Regions from separate parts of the Homo sapiens genome. Here all the other regions are linked to region 3. Evidence: promoter capture Hi-C in 16 types of primary human blood cells and fetal thymus (Javierre and others, 2016). All regions are on one chromosome and are shown on one strand. Each heading gives the region's core, a stretch centred on a gene start or on the middle of the fragment in contact. The rest is flanking DNA. Distances are from core to core; before and after follow the strand shown.

The links. The method cuts DNA at HindIII sites, captures the fragments that hold promoters and counts their contacts. A CHiCAGO score of 5 or more calls a contact.
Region 1: a contact is called between a fragment that was not itself captured here and the fragment with the promoter of PRPF39 in region 3, in 17 of 17 cell types (activated CD4 T cells, naive CD4 T cells, total CD8 T cells and 14 more). The highest score is 20.7, in activated CD4 T cells.
Region 2: a contact is called between a fragment that was not itself captured here and the fragment with the promoter of PRPF39 in region 3, in 14 of 17 cell types (neutrophils, total B cells, naive B cells and 11 more). The highest score is 11.5, in neutrophils.
Region 4: a fragment that was not itself captured here is called in contact with the fragment with the promoter of PRPF39 in region 3 in 17 of 17 cell types (total B cells, monocytes, total CD4 T cells and 14 more); the score reaches 18.4 in total B cells.
Region 5: a fragment that was not itself captured here is called in contact with the fragment with the promoter of PRPF39 in region 3 in 2 of 17 cell types (total CD4 T cells and monocytes); the score reaches 6.6 in total CD4 T cells.
Region 6: a fragment that was not itself captured here is called in contact with the fragment with the promoter of PRPF39 in region 3 in 3 of 17 cell types (monocytes, M2 macrophages and total B cells); the score reaches 8.5 in monocytes.

The regions. Positions count from the first base shown.
Region 1 is chr14:44,930,628-44,934,557 of GRCh38, reverse strand. KLHL28 (kelch like family member 28) reads left to right here. Exons shown (of 5, transcript NM_017658.5): 3 at 1-443; 4 at 3,017-3,225. Among named protein-coding and RNA genes, the nearest start is that of KLHL28, 29 kb to the left of the region's middle. The HindIII fragment of the contact is 1,071 bases long and covers 1,777-2,847 here.
Region 2 is chr14:45,267,453-45,271,838 of GRCh38, reverse strand. LOC107984674 (a long non-coding RNA gene) reads right to left here. Exons shown (of 4, transcript XR_001750746.2): 3 at 3,151-3,210; 4 at 2,130-2,468. Among named protein-coding and RNA genes, the nearest start is that of MIS18BP1, 16 kb to the right of the region's middle. The HindIII fragment of the contact is 6,569 bases long and covers 1-4,386 here.
Region 3 is chr14:45,082,322-45,086,224 of GRCh38, reverse strand. It overlaps PRPF39 (pre-mRNA processing factor 39), which reads right to left and starts at 2,109. Exons shown (of 14, transcript NM_017922.4): 1 at 1,976-2,109. It overlaps PRPF39-DT (PRPF39 divergent transcript), which reads left to right and starts at 2,199. Exons shown (of 2, transcript NR_184211.1): 1 at 2,199-2,753; 2 at 2,838-3,177. RefSeq lists a silencer at 2,115-2,404. The HindIII fragment of the contact is 5,294 bases long and covers 1-2,431 here.
Region 4 is chr14:45,239,638-45,243,608 of GRCh38, reverse strand. It overlaps MIS18BP1 (MIS18 binding protein 1), which reads left to right. Exons shown (of 17, transcript NM_018353.5): 3 at 735-848; 4 at 1,091-1,575. Among named protein-coding and RNA genes, the nearest start is that of MIS18BP1, 12 kb to the left of the region's middle. The HindIII fragment of the contact is 547 bases long and covers 1,524-2,070 here.
Region 5 is chr14:44,876,647-44,881,213 of GRCh38, reverse strand. No RefSeq gene overlaps it. Among named protein-coding and RNA genes, the nearest start is that of DORIP1, 18 kb to the left of the region's middle. The HindIII fragment of the contact is 3,926 bases long and covers 681-4,567 here.
Region 6 is chr14:45,285,419-45,289,820 of GRCh38, reverse strand. No RefSeq gene overlaps it. Among named protein-coding and RNA genes, the nearest start is that of MIS18BP1, 34 kb to the right of the region's middle. The HindIII fragment of the contact is 3,362 bases long and covers 35-3,396 here.

The DNA of each region.
Region 1 (3,930 bases), core at 1,063-3,562, 150 kb after region 3:
GTGGAGATGTACTTTCCTCAGAATGACTCTTGGATTGGTTTGGCACCCCTAAACATTCCTCGCTATGAATTTGGAATATGCGTTTTAGACCAAAAAGTATATGTTATAGGTGGTATTGCAACTAATGTGCGTCCTGGCGTCACTATCAGAAAACATGAAAATTCAGTGGAATGCTGGAATCCTGATACAAATACTTGGACTTCTCTAGAGAGAATGAATGAAAGCCGAAGTACTCTTGGAGTAGTAGTACTTGCAGGAGAACTTTATGCCTTAGGTGGTTATGATGGACAATCTTATTTACAATCTGTAGAGAAGTACATTCCCAAAATAAGAAAATGGCAACCTGTGGCACCAATGACGACAACAAGAAGTTGTTTTGCTGCAGCGGTATTGGATGGAATGATATATGCCATTGGTGGGTATGGTCCTGCCCACATGAACAGGTATTTAACTTAATAATTAAATTGCATATGTTTATGGATTTTTAAAAGTCTCATTAGCAATGATTTCTGAGTTTTAAACAATTTGTGTGTATGAATGAACTTCCGGCATTTGGGAAACTTAATCTGCTCCATGGATATAATTGTAATTGTTTTACATGGGAATTTAATACAAACCTAACAATCAAATCCCTCTCATTAAATTTTACATTCATTCACTATAAATGGACTAGATTTTAAAACTCAGAAACCTAAAAATAAGATGAAGTTAGACAACTTTAGATTTTGTGTGGTGTGTACATCTATGTGCACAGTATGTAAATTATCTTTTATTGTATTGCTTAATAGAATAAAGAAGTAGAAATTTAATTCCTGTGTGTCTATACAATATTATAGCACATCATAAACTTAAAACCTTATTTAAATATTCCTTTCTGAATTCTTTCCTGTAATCATACATGTATCATCAGGTATTTGACTTGTGCTGGAGTTTGAATTTGTGATATCTGTATTCTGTAGTTTTATCTGAATAAAGGAGAAATATATATGAGAAAATAAAAGTATGAAGTAACTAGTTATATGAGAAATTAATCGTAATTCTGAACCTTTATTGAAAATTGATGTTCCAAAGGTTTTATCTTTGGCCAGGTGTGGTGGTTCACGCCTGTAATCCTAATACTTTGGGAGGCTGACGTGGGAGGATTGCTTGAGCCCAGGAGGTTGAGGCTGCAGTGAGCCTTGAATGCACTACTACACTCCAGCCTGAGCAACAGAGTGAGACCCTGTCTCAAAAAAAAAAAAAAAGAAAGAAAGAAAAGAAAAGATTGTATCTTTAATAGTAATTAGAGTGGTTTGTGTTATTTTGATTGTGAGTATTTTAATGACAGGGCATACAGTCAGCCCTCCATATCCACGGGTTCTACATCCACAGATCCATCCAACTGTGGATCAAAAATATTTGAAAAAATTTACAATAATAAAAAACAAAATAATACAGTATAACAGCTATTTGCATAGTATTATAAGTAATCTAGAGATGATTTAAAGTATACAAGAGGATACGTGTAGCTTATATGCAAATATTATACTGTTTTATATAAGGAACTTGAGCATCTGCAAATTTTGGTATCCTTGGGATGGGGTGGATCCTGGAACCAATCCTCTACAAATACTGAGGTTTGTTGACTGAGAAAGTGATGGCACAACAGCATTTCATCTGTAAATTTTTACTTCTATTGAAGCCAAAGTATTCCTCCTTTTATTTATTTATATTTTTTGCCCTTAGTTGAAGGAAAAATATGGGACATAGACATGCATTTCTATTCTTTGAAAAGCTTCTGCCCAAAATTTGTAAGATAAAAGGTTAAGTATTTTAAATTTGATTATCTTGAAAGTCTTGCTGCAGTGCATCAACTCTTCTTCAATGATTTTGGTCTAATGGATTCTATCCTGGAGTTCTTTCAGAAACATTACCCAGTCTCTATTATGAACTCCAGAATGGTGTCACAGCCTGTTAAATGCTTATGGTTTTTTCAGGAAATAGGTTAGGGCCAGAACAAGCCCAACAATCTTACCTCTGTGCCTTTGTGCACCTTCAGAGGAAACCATAGTCTTAAACAGCTGCTAGAATTTTCTAGGGAAGCCTTTTTGAAAATTCTGATTTAATTTGGATTCCATAATGCAGCTTAGAAATGCCACACGTTCTCTGAAACACAGTCTTGACTCAAATTCCTGAGTACTCCTAAATCACCCTGAGATAATTATGATCAGCCAGTTTGTACTATGCAATCTACAGTGATTGCTTTGCAGTAAGCCACATGAATTCTCCTGTGACGAAAAAAAATAAAGGTTTTTCTCCCCACCCCCCACCCCTCTCTTCCTCTTCTTTTCCCCTTAACTGTATAGAAGATCCTAAAAACCTCTGTATTCAAGCCAGGCATGGGGGCATGTACCTTTAGTCCTAGCTACTCAGGAGGCTGAGGCAGAAAGATCACTTTAGCCCCGGAATTTGAGGCTGCAGTGAGCTCTGATCTTGTCACTGCACTCCAGCCTAGGTGACAGAGCGAGACCTGCCTCAAAAATAAATAAATAAAATTTAGGAACAAAAAAAAAAAGTCTGTATTCAGTTAGTGGTTTTCAAAGTCACGTGCATACTCATTTGACTTTATTCTTATATGAATCCCTTCAGGTTGCACTATCCTCATTTTTGCAGGTGAGAGGAAATGACTTATTCAGGATTACACAAATCCACAGCAGTAGGGTTAAGGTTCGTTCAGCCCTAGGTATACAGAATTAGTACTTGAACCCAGGTCTTCTGACTCCAAGTTCTATGCTCTTAATATACTTTGCCGCTTGCACAATATAATGGAATAGCATATGGAATTGCACCTTGTTTACAAGGTAAGCTTTTATCTTTGCAATCTTATCAGCAAAACCTAAGCATTTGTGGCAGACTACTCTTGTTTAATATCTCTCTATTATGTGAACTTTTAAAGCTGTAGTGGGTTTTAGTTTTGCTTTGACAGGAAGAATGACACAAAAGATCTGTAAATTAAATTTTTTTTAAATATTTGCAGTGTGGAGCGTTATGATCCAAGTAAGGACTCCTGGGAGATGGTTGCATCCATGGCAGATAAAAGGATTCACTTTGGCGTGGGTGTCATGCTAGGCTTTATTTTTGTGGTGGGTGGACATAATGGAGTCTCACATTTGTCCAGCATTGAAAGATACGATCCTCATCAAAATCAGTGGACTGTGTGTAGACCAATGAAAGAACCTAGAACAGGTAATAAGAATTTATTAATTTCTAAACATGTAAGGCAATGTTTTCTATAATGATGTGCTTGCAATAATAGTTCCTTGGAATATAGCAGTAGGAATATTACTTGTCCAGAAAAAAAAAAAAAAAGACTTGTATGTGGTAAACTTGAAAGACAATTAGCTAGACAAAAGTATATAGATTTCTTTATTGTGACTTTTATATGCCAATGTGCATATTATTGTTTCTCAAACTTGCTGAATACATTTTGGGAAATGCTTATACTAGAGTGTGTATTTATAGAAGCTCCTTTTGTCCATGTAACAAATGTCATCTTTTCATATGTTACATACATACAATCCTCGGATTGTTCTGTTTTGTTTTCTATTGTATATCAGTAATCTGTATGTTCACTTTCAAATGTTCTTTCTTCCCCAGGGGGTATAGTTGATCAAAAAGGGTTGTATTTCAGAGTTCGTAGAAACAAAACAAATCCACTTTTGTGGTTTAGGAAAAATTGTTATCTTTGAACTCAAACTCATCACATCATTTTAAGGGAAAGGTTTTAAGATACTGACAGAAATGCTTTAGGGAGCACTCCTCATACAGATTGAATATTTCCTATCCAAAATGCTTAGGACCAGAAGTGTTTCAGGTTTTGGATTTGGGATTTTGGAATATTTGAATTATGCTTACCAGGTTGATCATGCCAAGTTCAAAAATCTAAAGTGT
Region 2 (4,386 bases), core at 1,577-4,076, 180 kb before region 3:
TAGGTCTCACTATATAGGTTCTCAAAGCAATCCACAAGTCCAGAGGCTTGTCTTCATTGACCACTCCCATATAATAGCTCAAGTGGAAGAGAATGAGATCTTTATGGGCATGTGCAATCATCATCTTGGATAAGATGCTCCATATTCCAGATAAGAACCAACATTCATGGGCATAACTTCCTGGTCCCCACAAAAGACATTGAGTTATTTAGGAAAGCCCAAAGTTTTGGCTTCACACCAGGAATTTGTAGTTCTTCACAACTAGTCAAGGTAAATTTATCAATCAGGATTATTTTTACTATAAACAACATTGCTAGTTACACAGTTCACATTCTGCCATTTACAGGTTTCTAGGGAAATATAATTAGAAAGTTAATCCAAGGTAAATTTTGTCCACACAGAAAGAGAAAGGGTTTTGCTAACCTTTACACATTCTTTCTATGTACCTTTTCCCAACATTGCATTAAACACCCTTGAAGCCACTAAAAAAGGTGAAAACTCACATCAAGACCAAAAACTAAGACTAATAGATATTTCAATGCTGGATCTGGGATAAACAATACTTAGTATAAGACAGATGGAATTTTTCTGTGAAAAGCACTTACACTCTGCTTCATGAAACACAGATTGCCTGAAAAGGAGTTAGAAAATAATGCATACTTCACTATCTGTTTCTGAAGTCAGGGATATGGTATCTCCATCAACTAGAAATTTAGAATGCTATTCTTCTTTTTAAAAAGGGCCAGTCCATGAGTTGACTGTGTCTCTCCTCCATAATGTTGAGAGACAATTCTCCAGTGATCTTTTGTGTTTCTGTATGTCTCATGAAGAGGCACTGACAGCTTTTGTTCCAGACTATCTTTTCAAGGATGTTTGTATGGAAAACAATCTTAGAAGATAAAAAGTTGAGTCTCCCTCTAAAGCAGAGCGTATATTTGTTTCCTGACCATGATAGTAAATGTGTCTCTAATGAAATATTTTTGTGAAAACTGACCTAATCGAAAAGAGATATCATAGATCTCACTTTTAGGAGCAAGTAAGCTAATAAATAAGCTGATTTGTTTTGCAAATCCCAGAAAGTTTCAGGAATTGGAGGCTCCAGATACATCTGAAGGCAAAGTGTAGAGTTGAGCTTAAAACAGAAGAAATGGTTGAAAGTCTGTATTTAAAAAAAAAAAAATCATTTCTCAGTCCTCTTTCCTTAGCCCAAAATTTGGGGACACCTTTTGCAGCTGATTAATTAAGAGGTGATTAATTGAAAGTCTTTATACTAAAAGGTGACACCCCTAACCCTCTTCCCCAGTTTGTCTCACAGAACACCAGTTAACAGATTTATACTCTGTTTGCCTCTCCTGGTCCTTTCTCTGCCATTCTCTCCCTGGCTCTGAGAAATTGACTTCTGTGGACTGTATCAGCTAGGCTCCCTTAGCCTCTGGCTTGCATTTGGACTCAGCCAATGAGAGCCACCAGCATAAGATTGCAGGGTAAAAGGAGAGATGGGTTGAGCTTTTATTCTCTTTCTCCCCTTCCCTTGCAATTTTTGGCAGTGACTGCACTTCTCTACTTTCAGATACAGCAACTGTTGGACGCCCTCTCACACACAACTACAGATCATTCCAAGTTCCAGTATACTGTTAGGCCTAGGAGAGGTAATGGCTTTCAGCTGTTTTTAGTCCTGGAGTGTTTACCACCTCTTGATTGTTCCTGTTTGTGAAGGTTTAGTAATGTTTCCCTCATTAAACTCTTTTCAAGGAATCCTTTCATTGCTCTTTGCAATTTCCCCTTTGAGTGATCCATCTGTTTCTTTTTTTCTTTTTTCTTTTTTTTTTTTTTTTGAGATGGAGATTTGCTCGTTGTCCAGGCTGGAGTGCAATGGCATGATCTCGGCTCACCACATCCTGTGCCTCCCAGGTTCAAGCAATTCTCCTGCCTCAGCCTCCCGAGTAGCTGGGATTACAGGCATATGCCACCACGCCCAGCTAATTTTGTATTTTTAGTAGAGATGGGGTTTCACCGTTTTGCCCAGGCTGATCTTGAACTCCTGACCTCAGGTGATCTGCCCACCTCAGTCTCCCAAAGTGCTGGGATTACAGGCGTGAGCCACTGTGCCCGGCCAGATCCATCTGTTTCTTATAGGCCCACAAAGTCACATACCCTCTGGCAATTTTGCAGGATGCTTCTACTGGACCACCTGAACAAGCCCAAGAGAAAGGCCTACAGAGGTTTATTTCTAATCAAAAGGGAAAAGCATGAACAAATGCCCATAGGCATGAAGCAGTTAATTGTGTTCCAGGAACTAAGTGCTACTAGGTGTTACATGTGAGGTGGGGAGTGAATGGAGAGTAGGCCCAGAAGAGACAAATGCCAACTCAAAAGAGCATCTTGTAACTCATATCAAGGATCTTGGAGTTTACACCGTAGGCTCTGCAGAGGCACTGAAGGATTTCAAGTTTCAGTTTCAATCAATGCTGGAATAAAAATGAAGGAAAATGTAGGCAAGGCTAGAAGATGGAAGACATAAAGACATGACAGAGACAAACAACTGCAATGGTTTCAGTGAGAAATATTGAAGGCCATGATTCAGACTGTGGTGAAGGAATGGAGGAAATGGACAAAAAATTAGCAGCTATTGGGAGGCAGAATAGGTGAATGAGGGAATAGGGGGGAAACAGTCCCGATTGGCTCTTGGGCCTCTTACTTAGCAATGGATAAACAGCCTTTCACTGAGATAAAGTGTAGAAGATGACAGAATTTAAGAATGAGATTCACTGGCGGAAGGAAGGGGGTGAGGCGGGAACAATGATAAAGAGTTCTATTCTGAAAATGCTGAGCTGGAAATAGCTGTGGGAAATGTGGGTGAAATTGTCCCTGAGGTGCAAGGAAAGAGCTTCCCTTCAACCCACTGGTCAGTGTAGAGGGCATTGAACTCTGAGTTTTCCCCTCCCCCAATGAGGGAAACAAAATACAAATCCACAGCAAAAGAAAAACGTAAACAAACAAACAAACAAAAACAGAGCAAATCTGCCTTTGATCTTAGCATGGTAGTGGGCAACAGCCAAAACCAGAATAAAAGGCTCCCTGTGTAGATACCCATTTGACCACAAGATGGCATCAGAGCTAAGCTGCAGGAGAGCCCTAGTCAGAACCTACCTCAGTGCATCAAAGCCATCGCTTAACTGTTTGTTTTTGTTAGCAAGGAAGGGCTGTTCACTGGCAAAAAAAAAAAAAAAAAATTACTGAAAAGAGACATTTAGAATATTCTAAAACAAATTATACAGACTATACAGTATGCTCTAGGAGCTGGTAATATGGCACGTGATGAGCTGACTAGAGAGTCAAGCAGGTGCCTGTTTAAATTGGACATCAAGGGCTGTGGGATAGCAGGTGTCACATAAGCAGACAACTTCAACATAAACCACAAGGTTGGCCAGTGCGGTGGCTCACACCTGTAACCCCAGCACTTTGGGAGGCTGAGGCAGGCAGATCACTTGAGGTGAGGAGTTCGAGACCAGCCTGGCCAACATGGTGAAACCCTGTCTCTACTAAAAATACAAAAAAAAAAAAATTAGCCAGGTGTGGTGGAGGGCACCTGTAATCCCAGCTACTCGGGAGGCTCAGGCAGGAGAATCACTTGAACCCGGGAGGCAGAAGTTCCAATGACCTGAGATCATGCCACTGCACTCCAGCCTGGGTAAGAGTGAGACTCTGTCTCAAAAATAAAAAAAATAAAACTACAAAGTATGAAAGGTGATCCAGAAGTTAGGTCAATTGGCATAACAATCAGAAACAAGAACAAAAACACTAGCAGGTTTATGTATCACCAGGCATGACCTCAGGCCTCACCCCAGGTGGTTGTTGAAGAGGCCCAGATATTATCCCCAGGTCAAATATTAGATTAGACATGGGCATTCTGCCCTCTTGGCCTATAATAAATACCCCCACAAACACTGCAGTTGAGTCACTCACTGTGAAGCTAGATGAGTTAGCAAGAAAAAAACCATGTCAGTGTTAGCATCTCATTCCTTCTTCCCCAAAATTATATGTCCTAGGAGTCATCTCAGCATGGAGAGGAGATGGAAGCAGCAGGAGTAGAGAGAGACTTACAGTATTTCCCCCAAGATTGGGAAGGGGATATAATATTGAGATTTCTTTGAGAGGCAGGAATCTGCAGGGGCAGAGTAGGCCAATATATTTTCAAAGTAGCCACTACTTAGAGAGAGAGAGAGAGATTTGACATACCACACTCAAAAGTAGGAACTGGGAAAATCAAGCCATCTCCTATGTATCTCCTAATAATTTGAGACTCTTTAATAAAAGAATTCCATTTCTTTGAATTCAAGCTAGCTTCAGTATGCCTTTTGTACCTATTAGTATGAACTTAAATGG
Region 3 (3,903 bases), core at 860-3,359:
TCATGCCTGTCATCTCAGCACTTTGGGAGGCCGAGGCAGGCAGATCACCTGAAGTCAGGAGTTCTAGACCAGCCTGGCTAACATGGTGAAACCCCGTTTCTACTAAAAATACAAAAAATTAGGCGTGGTGGCGCGCATCTGTAATCCCAGCTACTGGGGAGGCTGAGGCAGAAGAATGACTTGAACCCGGGAGGCGGAGGTTGCGGTGAGCCAATAGCGCCATTGCACTCCAGCCTGGGCAACGAGAGTGAAATGCCATCTTTTGACCTAATACCTTTTTTTTTTTTTCTGTATGCCTCTTATTCCTGTAGAGGTACTTAAAAATTATACCATTGACTATTCTTTTTCATAAACACAGCAATATATAAAAATCTGAAGTCATCACTAAAGACTGAAAGGAGTTTTGGGTAGAGCAAAACAAGTAGCTTTGCAATAAGCAAATCTCATCCACAAGGCAATCTGGAGATTTGGGATGTAAGAAGAAAAGAGACTATCATAACCACTGGTTTTGGCAGCTGTTTTTAAGGGCTAAGTAGTCACACGCCGACTTTTTAAAGTCTCTACATATTAAACACTGTGTTCCAGAAACTAGATTTTGTATATGTATTTACATAAACGTCTACATCAATCTTCGGCTTTTTGGAAAACGTACCATTTGGCTGGAACTACACTACCTTCTTCCTCCTTCGGCTATTTTTAATTTTTTTTGAAGTCCTATCTTCCATGTAGATTTGTTAAAACATACCACAGAAAACAGCACATACAATTTTTATCATTTGACTTTTAAACATCTTCTTTCTTATTCAATTATAAGCAAGGAAAAATATTCTGAGACTTTACACAAATAGTGTCTCATACCACCTATGAGCCATCTATGCTCAACCCCTACTTCAAAGTTCACAATCTAAGTACTAGTCCTCTTTAACAGAACTCCTTTCCATCACTTTATCCCTACTAGAGAGTGAACAGTGGAAAGTTCCAACTTTTGCAACTCTAGAATGAGGTTATAAATCTAGAGGGAGGAGGAAAACCTGACAGTAGACGCTTGTTCTTTTCACTCCATTCAAGCTCCCATACAGCCTAAAACACTTAAGTTTCAACATGAGCTTCATACGTCCCTGTCCAAAACTTGCTTTCTCAAGCCTCACGCTTTCCAGCTGTAGCAAAGTTTATTTCTGAACAGATTAAATCAGTTGCTAAATAATCTGAAGTCCTCAAACAGAAGGCCATATGAGTATCAAACGAAAAAAACAACATTTGAATCAGCATAAATTCACATGGTATTATGGCATCATTACTAATACACTGAGCAGTATTATTTATTAACTTCAAGTATTAATTAACTTAAAGATGTGATTTTGGAGAAAAACACCAGTGGTGGTCTCTGATTACCAAAGTTAAACATTCTTAAGCACAATCCCTTAAAAAATCCTGCCAGGATCAATGATGTGTTTTTTCTGTTTTAAAGTATCCTGCCAAAAGCTGTGGGTGCTGTGACTTAGGGTCGCAAAAGTGTTGCTTATGTAGTCAGAAGACAGAACGTGCCCTACAAGGCGCTCACATGCCTTAGTAATAGAACGTATATTATCTTCCCAATCCTCTGGCGGCTGCAAATGTGCTCCTTCCACTTCCAGCCACCCCAGCCGTGTTCCAGCTCCGGGAGAAGCAAGGGCTTTAGAATTACCCCCAAATATCTTCCTAAATCCAGGCGAAGGAGGCCCACACTTCTCCACCCTACCTAACGCACCCCTCAAGTGAAACGTTTGGTCTAAGAAAAAAATACCTTGCACCGCTCCACCCAACAGGTGGGAAGGAGAAAGGAATGGACAGCTGAGCGCTGAATCCGAGCCAGGCCTCAAACAGGGCGGGAGAGGGAGGCCGCGGCCAGAGCGCGGCCTGAAACCCGGCAGGCCCCTTTCAGTACCAAGTACCACCCTCTGCCCCAGCTAATTTCAAGGAGCCCGCCCCAGCAGACCTTATGATGGATGCCACTTGATGCCATGAGCCGGAGCCTGTGACGACCTAGCCGAAGATGGCACTTCACCGCCTCCGTCCCCACAGCCAGCACAGCAGCCGCCACCCGCGCCACGGCCGCCTGGTCCAGGGCACGATGCGCATGCGTCAGTGTCCCTGGAGGCGAAAAAGTCACGTGGGTTCGCAGCGCGCAGGCCTGGCCCTCCCAGGGATCCTCGCTGCCCGTGCGGCCCCAGCCCCGCCCCCGCAGCCCCGCCCCGCCCCGCCGCGAGCGAGGGCGGGGACCGCTGCGCCTACCTGCCTTTCCCTCCATAGGGACTTCCCAAAGGAAAGGAGGGCGTTTAGGGGCTTTCACACGCCTGATCTTAAACACAGCGCCCTGACCCCTCCCCACCAAAAACGGCAAAATGTCATTTTTGGGGGCAAATCTAAGGTTTTCCCTACAATTGTTCAAGCTTTCACACTAAAACATTTACCTAAAAACGGGCAGAAATTCAGCCTTAAACCCACAAATCTCACGATGGTATAGACCCTGGGCCCACTCAGGTTTCCTGAAAACTAAACAGTTCTGGAGTTAGGGGTTTGGAGAACGGGCTATTGTTAAAGAAAAAAGTATTTAGTGACACTTGTTAAAGCACAAAAAGAGGGCTTTATTCAGGACCATCGCAACAGGTATAGGGACCACTGACTGCAATGGAGACTTGCAGTAGGGAAAGAGATATTGGGCTCAACTCCTCATACAGCATGGGCAAGTGGAGATTTATAGCCAAGGAGCGGTGGTAAGTGAATGTATAATTACTAAGAGGAAACATCAGGGTAAGGGGGATTTTGGCTAAACCCACCTAATAGGATTTTTGCTGAAGACAGGCCAAGATAATGAGGCATCACCTGGGGGATGGTGGAGACTGAAGAACCTGATCAGATATTGAGGATGATCAGCTATCAAGGATGGGGGTTTATTGCTAATCTGACTTAGCAAAGTTCTTTGCTTAAACTGGATTTTACAAAGAAAGTGTACAGAAGAGCCTAGCAGAAGATTCAGAAACCTGACTAAAGTTGGCCAAGCAAAAAAAAAAATCTTTGTATCTGAAGGGATATGTTATCCTCTGGACAAATTGAGGGGGACTGTGCGTTAACAATCTTAGCAGTCCTCTTCAGTTGTACCACCATCTCCACTTTAATAAAAAAAAATTTTCTTTCAAATCTGGCCTCTCTCCCTTTAAGATTCTGTTACATTGGTGCCCCCGCATTCACCTGTCACTTACCATGTAATCTGTTGTTCCAGGTGCATTAGTATTACTACTGGGCTCCAAGTTCCTCATCTGAAATCTGTCTCCTCTGGAAATACTTATTTACAAGACGACGTTTCTTGTCACAACGCAGGTTAATCATAAATCCTCTCACCAGCACCTTTCGTTCGAAATACCAAATTCAGTCTTTTTTCCTACCTTTTACTTGCATCACACTGCACCTAGTAGTAGCTTTCCCTTTCCATTTGCCTCTTCTACTTTCCAAGCTAACTTTTTTGGATTCTCTGACAGTGTGGCCATGTTTTTTGTTTGTTTGTTTCACAGGTTTAAACAGCAGCTTTTAAATGTTTACTGTGGGAAGAATAGTCAAGGGAGTGGTGCGTTGGGAAGACAGACCAGAGTTTGCTGCTGGCACTGTTACGCAGGGACTGTTTGGCATGACCTTCACTCCTTTTCTGGTTCTTTGGTCTTTCTAAGGTGGCCTCAATTTCTTTATCAGTAAATAAGATTATCTCTGAGATGTCATTCACTCAAATAGCCATTTTATAAAAATCTACTTGCATCTTCAACTTCATTCACTGTGGATTCGTTGTTTTCCTTTATCTAGTTTTTACATTTTACCTTTCAAGCCGGTGCTATTGCTCTCACTCCCCCGCTTAAAAACCTCCACTGGTTTCCT
Region 4 (3,971 bases), core at 548-3,047, 160 kb before region 3:
TTTTTTCAAGTATAAAATTTAAAATTAAACATATAAGATAATTCTTCTCAGGCTCAAATTTTAAGTCTATTATCATCCCCTTTTTGTGTGAAAGAAACTACATTCGAGAAACATTAAACTTTAAAAATCTAGGAGGTAAAGCAGAATAAGATGCAAGCAGTGCTATTAGTCCTTATTTATCTAGTTGAGAAACCTACAACTTCTGAGCATTTGAAGGCCTACTAAAAATTGTCTAAAGGATATAAATTATGGCTGAGTCTGCTGTTGCATCTCAACATTTTAATTTTTAAAGAATAAGTTACAATTCTTCGACTATCTTTCATGCTTTAGAAATTCACAGCAACCAGAAACAGAATCGGAATTTTCAAGACTGGGTGAAACTTTATATTGTAATCTTAACATATACATATCCAATTTGTGGCAGCACCAGAATTTCAGATCTCTAGGTTTCTAAGTCCAATACTTTTGTCTAGAGCTGGCGGGTTGTGTTCAGAGAAGGTTTTAAAAAATTCTTCCTCACCGTAATGTTGGTATAGAGAATGGGGTAAAGGTATGAGAAGATAATACAGCCAAAAATATAAAAATATATGTAACTGTCATATATTGCAAAAGTACTATACTGGTCTGATCATTACTAAATCTAAGTGTCTTTATTTCAAGAATTTTAAAAGCTGTTTTTTTCTTAGTGACTAATACAATTCAACTTCTTCTTTCTTTAAAAAATAAAACCTTAGCCTCAGTCCAAGGAGTTCCTCTAGAATCATCAAATAATGATATTTTCCTCCCGGTCAAACAAAAGATTCAGTGCCAGCAGGAAAAGAAAGCACCACTGCACAATTTAACTTACGGTAAACTATTTTTGGTTTGTTTTCAGTTTGTTACTTAAGTATATTGTTAAATGTTCTAGGTAATTACTTTCCTTGTGTGGGCATTAAACTTTAGCTGTGGACAAAAGCTTGAATCGTAAAAGAGACACTCAGAGAAAGACTGGGCAGGAGGGTGGAACGTTCCTAACCTAAATTTATCTCTTTTAATTTCCTGTGATCCTTCTATAATTGTTTTGTTTTGTTTTGTTTTGTATTTTTTGCAGAACTTCCAACTCTGAACCAAGAACAGGAAAATTTTTTGGCTGTAGAAGCCCGAAACAAGACATTAACTAGAGCTCAGTTGGCTAAACAAATTTTTCACTCAAAGGAGAGTATAGTTGCAACCACTAAATCCAAAAAGGACACGTTTGTTTTAGAAAGCGTTGATTCTGCTGATGAACAATTTCAAAATACTAATGCTGAGACTCTCAGTACTAATTGTATTCCTATTAAAAATGGCAGCCTGTTAATGGTTTCTGATAGTGAGAGGACAACAGAAGGGACTTCGCAACAGAAAGTTAAGGAAGGAAATGGAAAAACAGTGCCTGGAGAGACAGGTCTTCCAGGTTCCATGAAAGATACATGTAAAATTGTACTTGCAACACCAAGACTTCATATAACAATACCTCGGAGGTCAAAAAGAAATATTTCAAAGCTTTCTCCTCCAAGAATATTTCAAACTGTTACAAATGGACTTAAAAAAAATCAGGTGGGAAAACTTTTAAGACAGATATTTATTTCTATTTTTACCCCGTTCTTCAAGAGCTTGAGCTTTTAATGTTCTCTCATTATTTTTTTTCTAGCTAGGATTTGAACCTGTATGCTTCATTATTAACAGTGTCTTCATTATCATGTTTTATTATTTACTGCAGTGACAGTGTGACATAGTGAAAAGAACAGTGAGTTGAATGTAAGAAGACCCACATGTTAAGTCTTATTTTGCTCTATTACTAGTTGTGTAGTCTTCAATAATTTACTTGTTCCTTTTGGTGATGAACATTGAATTCATTCCTACTCTTTTTTTTCTGATACTTACAGTACTATTAAAATAGTTAGATTAATTAAGATAGAAAGGAACTGTAGCATCTGAAGATTTGAGAATTTTTCCCAAATTAAATACAGAGTAATCAATGAAAGACTTTAGAGCATTAAACTGTTACATTAGGACAAATTCTCTGAAGGAAGTGGAATGGAAATACAAGCTTAAGGAGGAAGATGCAGTGTAAAATTTCCAATTGTTAGAGGTTTGCCCATTAATTAATTAATTATTTTTGAGCTGGAGTCTTCCTCTGTCACCCAGGCTGGAGCACAATGGCGTGGTCTTGGCTCACTGCAACCTCCACTTCCTGGGTTCAAGCGATTCTCCTACTTCACCCTCCTGAGTAGCTGGGATTACAGGCGCCTGCCACCATGCCCAGCTAATTTTTGTGTTTTTAGTAGAGACGGGGTTTTACCGTGCTGGCCAAGCTGGTCTCTGACTCCTGACCTCAAGTGATCCTCCCGCCTCGGCCTCCCAAAGTGCCGGGATTAGAGGCGTGAGCCACTGCATCCAGCCATTAATTCTTAAATGTATGATGGTGGTTATCAAGTTGAGATCATGTATAAATTCCATCTAAATTTTAATTAATAATTAATTTTTTAAATGAGGCCTTACTCTGTTGCCCAGGCCAGCCTTTTGGGCTCAAGCAATCCTCCCACTTAAGCCTCCCTTGTAGCCATCTAAATTTTAAAGAGTGACATACCAGTTATGGTTTTATATCTCAATATATTCGCTAGAAATCCCATTATTGGAAAATATTTAAACTTTATTTATTTATCTATCTATTTATTTATTTATTTTGGAGACAGAGTCTCACTCTGTCACCCAGGCTGGAGTGCAGTGGCACAATCTCAGCTCATTGCAACCTCCGCCTTCCAGGTTCATGCAAATCTCCTGCCTCAGCCTCCTGAGTGGCTGGGACTACAGGCACATGCTGCCATGCCCGGCTAAATTTTTTTTTTTTTGGATTATTCTCATTAACATATAAACATGTTGAAACATGGCCTGCATTTTTTAAAAACATGCAAACAAAGGCCCATCTTTCCTTTATCCCCTGTCCAACTCCAGCTGCTACACTACTTTTTGTTTCCCTTATATAGCAAGACATTTGAAAGAGGTCTGTGTATTCATGGTTGGAGTTGAGAAGAATATTCTGTGCTGGAAACATATTGGAGAGCTATCAGCATAGAGATGGAATTTAAAACTATGACACTGGAAATACAGCCTAGAGAGTGCGTGTAGGTAGGGAGAAAATTGAGGGGGCAATTGAAAGGGCAATGTCCTTACCACCTAAAGTAAAAGGAAATGATTACAGGTGTGAGCCACCACGCCTGGCCCCAAAATGTCTTTCTAAAGAAGTGTTACGCTTTATATTTTGTATTCCAGGATCGTTCCTGATTTTCTGCTACATTGCTGCCCATCCCTTCTCAGTCCTCTTTGCTATTTCCTCTTTCTTTCCCCAGAATCAGTCCTAAAAATGTTGGAATTACTGCAGATCAGCCCTAGAAATTGTTTTTCTACCTACACGCACTCTCTAGGCTGTATTTCCAGTGTCATAGTTTTAAATTCCATCTCTATGCTGATAGCTCTCCAATATGTTTCCAGCACAGAAAATTCTTCTCAACTCCACACTCATGTGCAGTTGTCTATATGACTTTTCTATTGATATCAGATAGGCATCTCAAATTGAAAATGTGAGAAAATGTGAGATTCTTATTCTTGATTTCTTTACCATACCTTCTCCATTGTCCTGTATTAGTACATTGTAATACCATTGGCCCCAGTATTTAGGCAAAATTTTAGATTCATCTTGGACTCTTGTTTCTCTCTCATGCTCCACATCCAAACCATGAAGAAATCCCATTGGCTCTACTCTCCTGAATGCGGCCTCTTCTCACTGTTCAACCACTACCTCCTAGTCCAGGGATGACTGTCATAGCCTAGTGGTCTCCCTGCTTCCAGTATTGCTTTTCTCCTTTTTCAGTCTGTTTTCCAGACAAGCTAAAATCTTCATATAGTCTCATCTCTACCCAACAGTCCCTTAAAATATCAAATTTTGTCGTTCT
Region 5 (4,567 bases), core at 1,394-3,893, 210 kb after region 3:
TCTATCATAGAGAAGATGCTTGCTGTTATTTCAATTTTTTGACGGTTTTAAGATGTGTTTTGTGTTGTAACGTATGGTCTATCTTTGAGAATTATCCATGTGCTGAGAAAAAGAATGTGTATTCTGTAGTCATTGGATGAAATGTTCTGTAAATATCTATTGGGTACATTTGTTCTAGAGTGCAAATTAAGTCCAATGTTTTTGTCTTGATTTTCTGTCTGGAAGATCTGTCCAGTGCTGAAAGTGGGGTGTTGAAGTCTCCAGCTAATACTGAATTTGAGTCTCTCTCTCTCTTTAGCTCTAATAATATTTGTTTTACATAGCTTGGTGCTCCAGTATTGGGTGCATGTATATTTAAAATTGTTATACCCTCTTGCTGAATTGACCCCTTTATCATTATATAGTGATCTTCTTTGTCTCTTTTTATAGTTTTATCTTGAAATCTATTTTGTTTGATATAAGTATAGTAACTCCTGCTCTTTTTTTGTTTTCCATTGGCATGGAGTACCTTTTTCTATCCATTTATTTTTTTAGTCTACATGTGTCTTTATAGGTGAAGTGTGTTTCTTGTAGGCAACAGATCAATGTTCTTATTTTTATATACAGTTAACCAGTCTATGTCTTTTTTTTTTTTTTTTTTTTTTTTTTTTGAGATGGAGTCTCACTCTGTCACCCAAGCTTAAGTGCAGTGGCATGATTTTGGCTCACTGCAACCTCCACTTCCTAGGTTCAAGCAATCCTCCCACCTCAGCCTCCTGAGTAGCTGAGACTATAGATGTATGCCACCACACCTGGCTAATTTTTATGTTTTTAGTAGAGATGGGGTTTCACCATGTTGGCCAGGCTGGTCTTGAACTCCTGACTTCAAGTGATCTGCCCACCTCAGCCTCCCAAAGTGCTGGGATTACATGCATGAGCCACCCAGCCCAGCCTCAGGCTATGTCTTTTGATTGGAGAGTTTACTTCATTTACATTCAATGTTATTATTAATAAGTAAGGTCTTACTCCTGCCATTTCATTATTTGTTTTCTGGTCTTTGCTTTCTTCTTTCCTTTTTTCTTGTCTTCCTTTTAGTGAAGGTGATTTTCTCTGGTGGTATGATTTAGTATCTTGCTTTTTATTTTTTGTGTATCTGTTGCATGATTTTTGATTTGAGGTTACCATGAGGCTTAAAAATACTATCTTATAAACCATTATTTTAAGTTGATAACAACTTAACAGTGTTTACATAAACAAGTGAAAAGAAAACTAATAAAAACTTGACACCTTAACTTCCTCCCCCTGCTGGGGTTTTTTTTTTTTTTTTTTTTTGAAATGGAGTTTTCACTCTTGTTGCCCAGGCTGGAGTGCAGTGGCACAGTCTCGGCTCGCTGCAATGTCCGCCTCCTGGGTTCAAGTGATTCTCCTGCCTCAGCCTCCTGAGTAGCTGGGATTACAGGTATGCAACAACACACCCAGCTGATTTTTATTTGTATTTTTGTAGAGACGGGGTTTTACCATGTTGGCCAGGCTGGTCTCAAACTACTGACCTCAGGTGATCAACTCACCGCAGCCTCCCAAAGTGCTTGGATTACAGGTGTGAGCCACTGCACCCAGCCCCTCCCCCTGCTTTTTAACTTTTTGTTGTTTCTATTTGTAGCTTACCATACTGTCTGTGACTTAAAAAGTTGTAGTTTTTTTTCATTGTTTAGTCTTTCTACTTAGGATAAGAGTAGTTTACACACCACAGTCATATTGTTATAGTATTCTATGTTTTTCTATGCACTTACCCGTGAGTTTTTAAATTTTCAGACAATTTCTTATTGCTCATTAACATCCTTTTCTTTCTGATTTAAGTACTCCCCTTACCATTTCTTGTAGTACAGGTCTGGAGTTGATGAAATCCCTCAGCTTTTGTTTGTCTGGGAAAGTCTTTATTCCAGCTTCATGTTTGAAGGATATTTTCGCTGAATATACTATCCTAGGAGGAAAGTTTTTTCCTTTGGCACTTTAAATATGTCATGCCATTCTCTATTGGCCCATAAAGTTTCTACTGAAAAGTCTGCTGCCAGACATATTAGAGCTCCACTGCATGTTGTTTATTTTCTCTTGCTGCTTTTAGTGTCCTTTCTTTTTCATTCACCTTTGGGAATTTGATTATTAATTGCTTGGAGGCAGTCTTCTTTGGGTTAAATCTGCTTCATGTCTTATAACCTTGTTGTACTTGGATATTGATTTATTTTGCTAGGTTCGGAAAATTCTGTGTTATTGTCCCTTTGAATAAACTTTCTAACCCCCCTCTTTCTCCACCTCTTCTTTAAGACCAACGACTCTTAGATTTGCCCTTTTGACGCTATTTGCTTTTGAGACGGAGTTTCGCTCTTATTGCCCAGGCTGGAGTGCAATGGCATGATCTTGGCTCACCGCAACCTCCTCCTCCTGGGTTCAAGCAGTTTTCCTGCCTCAGCCTCCCCAGTAGCTGGGATTACAGGCATGTGCCACCACGCCCAGCTAATTTTGAATTTTTAGTAGAGATGGGGTTTCTCCATGTTGGTCAGGCTGGTCTCGAACTCTCGACCTTAGGTGATCCTCCCTCCTTGGCCTCCCAAAGTGCTGGGATTACAGGCATGAGCCACCGTGTCTGGCCGATGCTATTTTCTAGATCTTGTAGGCATGCTTTATTTTTTTTTTTAATTTCATTTGTTTCCTTTTACTGTCTATTTTAAAATAGCCTGTCTTTAAGCTCACCCATTCTTTCTTCTGCCTTTTCAGTATGTCAATTGCATTTTTCAACTCCAGAATTTCTTTTTGATTCTTTTTATTTAAATATCTTTCTTCAGTTTATCTGATAGAATTCTGATTTTTTTTTCTCTGCTTTATCTTGAATTTCTTTGAGTTTCCTCAGCACAGTTATTTTGAATTCTTTGTCTGAAATGTTTCATGTCTCTGTTTCTTCAGAATTGGTTCCTGGTGCCCCATTTAGTTCTGGGGCCCCATTTAGCCTGGTGAGGCCATGTTTTCCTAGATGGTCTTGATGCTTGTGGATGTTTGTCTGTGTCTGGGCATTAAACAGTTGGGCATTTATTGTAGTTTACACAGTCTGGGTTTGTTTGTATCCATCCTTCTTGAGAAGGTCTCCCAGCTATTTAAAATCACCTGGGTGTCATGGTCTAAGCTGTACTGGCATTAGGAGGCACCCCAAGCCCAATAATGCTATGGTTCTTACAGACTCATAGAGGTACCAACTTTGATAGTCTTGGATAAAATCTGGAAGAATTCTCTGGATTACCAAGTAGAGACTCTTGATCTCCTCCCTTACGTTCTCTCAAGGAAATGGAGTTTCTTTCTCTGTGCTGAGCCGCCTGGAGCTGGGGGTGGGGTAACATAAGTAGCCCTATGGCCACCACCACTGGAATTATGCTAGGTGAGACCTGAAGCCCACACAGTACTGAGTCTTGCCCAAGGCCCACTGTAACCACTATCTGGCTACCACCTATGTCTTCTCATGGCCTGGGGGTCTACAATGCACAGGTGGTGAAGCCAGCCAGGCATATGTCCTTCCCTATAGGGCGATGAGTTCCCCCAGGCCCTGCGGGGGTCCAGAGATGCCATTTGGGAGCCAGGGACTAGAGTCAAAAAGCTAGGTGTCTACCTGATGTTTATTGTACTGTGGTTGAGGTGGTGCTCAAACCATAAGACGTGGTCCTTCTCACTCTTCCCTCCCCTTTCCACAGGCAGAGGAAGCTCACCTATGGCTACTGCCACTACAGGTCCACAGGGAGTAATGCCCGGCTACCACTGATGTTCATTAAGACCCAAGGGTTCTTCAGTCGGCTTGTGGTAGATGCTGCCTGGCCTGGGACTCACCCTTCAGGACAGTGGGCTCCCTTCTGGCCCAAGGCAGGTCCAGAATTACTGTCCAGGAGCCAAGGCTTTGAATCAGGGACCTCAAGAGCCCGCTTGATGTTCTACCCCACTATGGCTGCGCCTGTACCTAAGGTGCAAAAGTCCCCTTTACTTTTCCCTCTACTTTTCTCCAGCATAAGGAGTCTCTCCCCATAGCCACCATGGCTGGAAATGTGCTGAGTCTCATTTGAAGCCAGCTAGTCTCAGAGTCTCACAGAAGGCCCACTGCATACCTAGGTATCGCTGGTATCGCTGGCTATTTGGAGCTTAAGAGCTCTTCAATCCTCTGACATCTTGATTGCAGCCTTTGAGAGACCCTGGGCCAGAGGATCCAGCTATTGCCATGCTTAAATTTCCAACCCAAATGTAACTGTGAGATAAATGTTGTTTTAAGCCACTAATTTTTTTAATTACTGTATTAATTTTAACAGATAATACAATAAGAGTTTTAAAATAAAAATTTTGATATTACAATAATATACTTCATGGATTATTGTGACATGTTGGAATGCACTTACCCTCTTAGACCTGAGTTCCTTTTATCCAGTGATGACTCTTGAATTGCTTCTTCCTCCTGAGTCTCCTTTGTTAATCAGACCTGGATTTCTGTGCTTCCTTTGCACAGAAAAGTGCTTTCCTGTCTTCTGAGTTATATTGCTTCTTACCCCATATATGTTAATTC
Region 6 (4,402 bases), core at 466-2,965, 200 kb before region 3:
GCTAAATGTTTCTGTAAAAAGTCTGACACAAGCTTGAATTTCCCCTTGTTAAGTAACTTGCTTTTTCTACTTGATGTCTGAAGAATTCTTTTTTGTTGTTAAAATCTTGATGCTTGGTAACATACAGGGCACTTCTCAATGTTGGTAATTCAGTATCAATTTTTCCTATTAGACGTGTGTGCTTTATTATGAAAGAGATTTTCCACTATTATATCTCTGAATACTTTTTCTCACCATCTGTTGTCTACTTCAGAGATGCCTATTGTTTTGTCAGTCATCCATGTCTACAGCCTCTTCCTAATTGCCTTCATCTCCATCTTGCTTCTCATTCACTGTAACTTATGCCTTTTTTCCATCACATTAATTTAAATTTTAACTATGTCTCTTCTGCTTTTTATTCTTTTAATATATTTATTAGATTTAAAATTCTGCTTTACATCTGAGTTTCCTTGACCTTGCACTTCCCTTTTAATTTCATTCTGTTGTTTTATATTCTTGTCTTTTAAACTTTCATTTCACTGAATTTCTATTTGTGAAAAATTCTTCTACAGCAAGAGACATTAACAAGGAAACAGTTTCTGTTACAGAAATTATTATTTTTCTTTTCCTTTTTTTTTTTTTTGTTGACAAGGCTGGAGTACAGTGGCGCGATCTCAGCTCACTGCAACCTCTGCCTCCTGGGTTCAAGGGATTCTCCTGCCTCAGCCTCCCAAGTAGCTGGGATTACAGGCACCCACCACAATGCCCGTCTAATTTTTTGTATTTTTAGTAGAGACAGGGTTTCATCATGTTGGCCAGGCTGGTCTCAAACTCCTGACCTCAGGTGATCCACCCGCCTCAGCCTCCCAAAGTGCTGGGATTCTGGGATTACAGGCATGAGCCACCACACCCAGCTTTCTTTTTTCTTTTTTCCTTTTTTTTTTTTTTTTTTGTTTAGGCAGGGTCCCACTATGTCACCCAGGCTGAAGTCTAGTAGCATGATCGCAGCTCACTGTAGCCTCCAACTCCTGGGCTCAAGTGATCCTCCTACCTCAGCCTCCCGAGTAGCTGGAACTACAGGCATGCACCACCACCTCCAGCTAATTTTTGTACTTTTTGGTACAGATGGGGTTTTGCAATGTTGTCCAGACTGATCTCAAACCCCTGAGCTCAAGGTATCCTCCCACCTCGACCTCCCAATGTGCTGAGATCACAGGCATAAGCCACTGCGCCCGGCCAGAAATTATGATTTCTTATAGATGATTTCATCATTTCTCTTTCACATGTATGTTTCTCTCAGTCTCTCTCTGACTCTGTCTCTTTACATTTGTCTTTTTCTGTAGTATTTTTGCAGAGTTTTATGCCATTTCCTTTCATCTTGCATATGCTTATATAGGCAACACTGTACAGACATTATTTGCTCTAATATAGTGTGTTTTGCAATCATTTTTACTTGTTTATACACAGTCTTTCATAAAGGTCATGCCAGAAGATTTAACTCTGCTAATGTCTGTAAGAAGAAAATAAAAAATAATCCTTTTAAACATGACACAGTGCTACACATATTACACTGATTTACTGTAATTTATTTATGGTGGGCACTAAGATGTAGTGGTTAGGAGAGCCGGCTCTGGGACAAACTGTGTAGGTTTAAACCTGTATATCTTGGACTACTAAATCATTTAATCTATCTAAGCCTCAGTTTCCCAGTCTCTAAATTGGGACTAATAAGAACACCCAATCTCATTGTTAGGGGGAACAAATGAAACAAAGCATGAAAAACACGTAGGAGGCACTTCATATTTGTTAAATTAATAAATGAATACATATTCTCCAAATAAAACTTTTAAACATTACAATATATTTTCAGTTTCAGTTTGAATAGCTTGATTCTAAATTTGGCTAAATTTATGAATCAGTGCCTTTATTAGTTTTTGATACAAGTGCAGCTGTCTCATGCAAAGATGTACGTTTTAAACAGCAGCAATATTTTTGCTTGATGCCATTGAGAAATTCAAAGAGGCGGCTTGCCATCTAGTGGAAACCTGTTAAATTCCAATGCTTCTTCTGAGTCTGGCAAATTCATAGATTAAGGTAAATTGTTCATTTTAATATGTTCTAGAGAAACTTCCTTTATATACCTTGTTTGTGCACATTTATAGGAGGGAAATGCCCTGTGGTAGAACAAAATAATAATACTACTAACAGTAATAATAATCAACTTGAACTGTCCTCTGATCGAATGGGATTGGCTTTACAAGATAACATATATTTCATAGCATTCTCAAGTCAGACTTGAAACAAAATTCCAGAAATTAATTAGCAAGAGAAAAGGCATACTTGTTTAAGAGATGTCAGAATTTCTTTCACAGTGCTCATGTAGAAAGGCCATGAATGGCCGGGCACGGTGGCTCATACCTGTAATCCCAGCACTTTGGGAGGCCGAGGTGGGCAGATCACGAGGTCATGAGATCAAGACCACCCTGGCCAATATGGTGAAACCCCGTCTCCACTAAAAATACAAAAATTAGCTGGGCGTGGTGGCGCATGCCTGTAGACCCGGCTACTCGGGAGGCTGAGGCAGGAGAATCACTTGAACCCAAGAGGTGGAGGTTGCAGTGGGCCAAGATCGCGCCACTGCACTCCAGCCTGGCAACAGAGTGAGACTCCGTCTCAAAAAAAATAAAAGAAAGAAAAAAAAGAAAGGCCACGAATATAAATGGCCTCATGCTCCCAGGTCTGTTTCTGATTTTAAGGCCCAATTTCTTTGTTTCCATGAGTAACTTCCTTTTCTTCTCCCTACATTTATCTTTTTTTTTAATATAAAAGCCTGATCAGAAACTTCCAACCTATTTCGTCCTCCTAAAGCATTTCCTTTTACTATCAAAAGATATCCTAAACAATGTTCTTTTTTCTTAACAGATTGGCAGGTTTAATAAGTATTTCTGGGTTAAATATTATTCCTTTAATCACCACAGAGCTAAAACCCTGAAGTAGCCAAGTCTTATGAAACTACCCCATATCTCAAGAAACAAATTACACTGGCAGGGTCGTGAGCTGTGGCAATGATGTACAATTCTTGGGTCAAAAAGGTAACCAATCTACATGTTGAGTAAGGTCCTCTCTCTAAAAAGGTTCAAACTTGACAAAGTTATGGATGATAATTCTTAAAAGAGGTAAGTAAGTGGATTCCATAAAATTATTTGAGAGGTTAATGGTTTTAAAATATAATGAAGCAAGAGCTATGGTTAGGAGGGAAAAAAATGTATTGGTGAGACCAGGGAGAGAAACACATTTGGGCAAAGCATGTATTAGACGATGGTTCTAAGAACCTTCTGTCTTTTCAAAGCAACTTTTGAGTAGGGCTATTTTTGACTTTCATCTACATACTGAGCTGATCCATCCATAAACCAAGCTTGAGTTTTTTTCTTTGTGCTTTGGGTAGAATCCTCCATAGAACCACAGGCATGAGATGAATGAAAGGGCACTGTTAAAACAGTGATAGGTGCCATGGGGGTCTGTAATACCTACTCGTGAAGCTTGTTTGAGCCATCTGGTTATGATTATACTTGCTCCTAAATGTACCAACTCCATCTTGCAATGTACTGTTGCTTGGGCTATCTGACCTTTCTATTTGGTAAGTCTGATAGGACCCAGCTCATGATGGGAATTTATATAATATATACATGGTTACTTGATACTCCATGGTCAGGCATCCTGTCTCCACCAGGGTTCAGGAGCACATCAAAAGGTATATCATTCTCTACCAAAAATGGCATTGCCTTGCTCCAAAAACCAAGGGACTAACATTATAATTTGCCCACTGGGACTTGCAACAAACTCCACATAGAATCTTGTCTTATCACTTACACCTTTATGATCATAAATTCTGCTAAATTGTATGACCCAAGTGACAGGGCTGCTTGCACCCCAGCCTGGATCTGTTGCTATTTCCTACTCCTGATCTGATTTAAAGTTGGCAGCATTTTATGTCATCCAGTATGTTGGCTGGAGAAGTATCCCTAGGTGTAGAAATGTGCTGCCTCCAGAACTCAGAGGCCCATCAGGGATTGTGCTTCTTTTTTAATGTAGGAGATACGAGATGCAATAATTTGTCTTTTATGTTAGAGGATATATACAGGCACAGCCCTGATCAATAAACCCCTAAAGTATTTACAGATGTAGCAAGCACTTATATCTTCATAGGGTTTGTCTCTCACACACTACAGCATATCCTGCCATTGCCTCCACTGTGCTAGCCCTCTCCTGCAAATCCAACTCAATCAAAATAATGTCATCAAAGTAATTGATCAGTGTAATGCCAAATGTCAAGAGGGTCCAGATCTCTTCAAACTGTATTATGACAGAGGACAAGAGGACTAAAAACAGCCCTGGGACAAACCTATAAACAAATATTATTGTC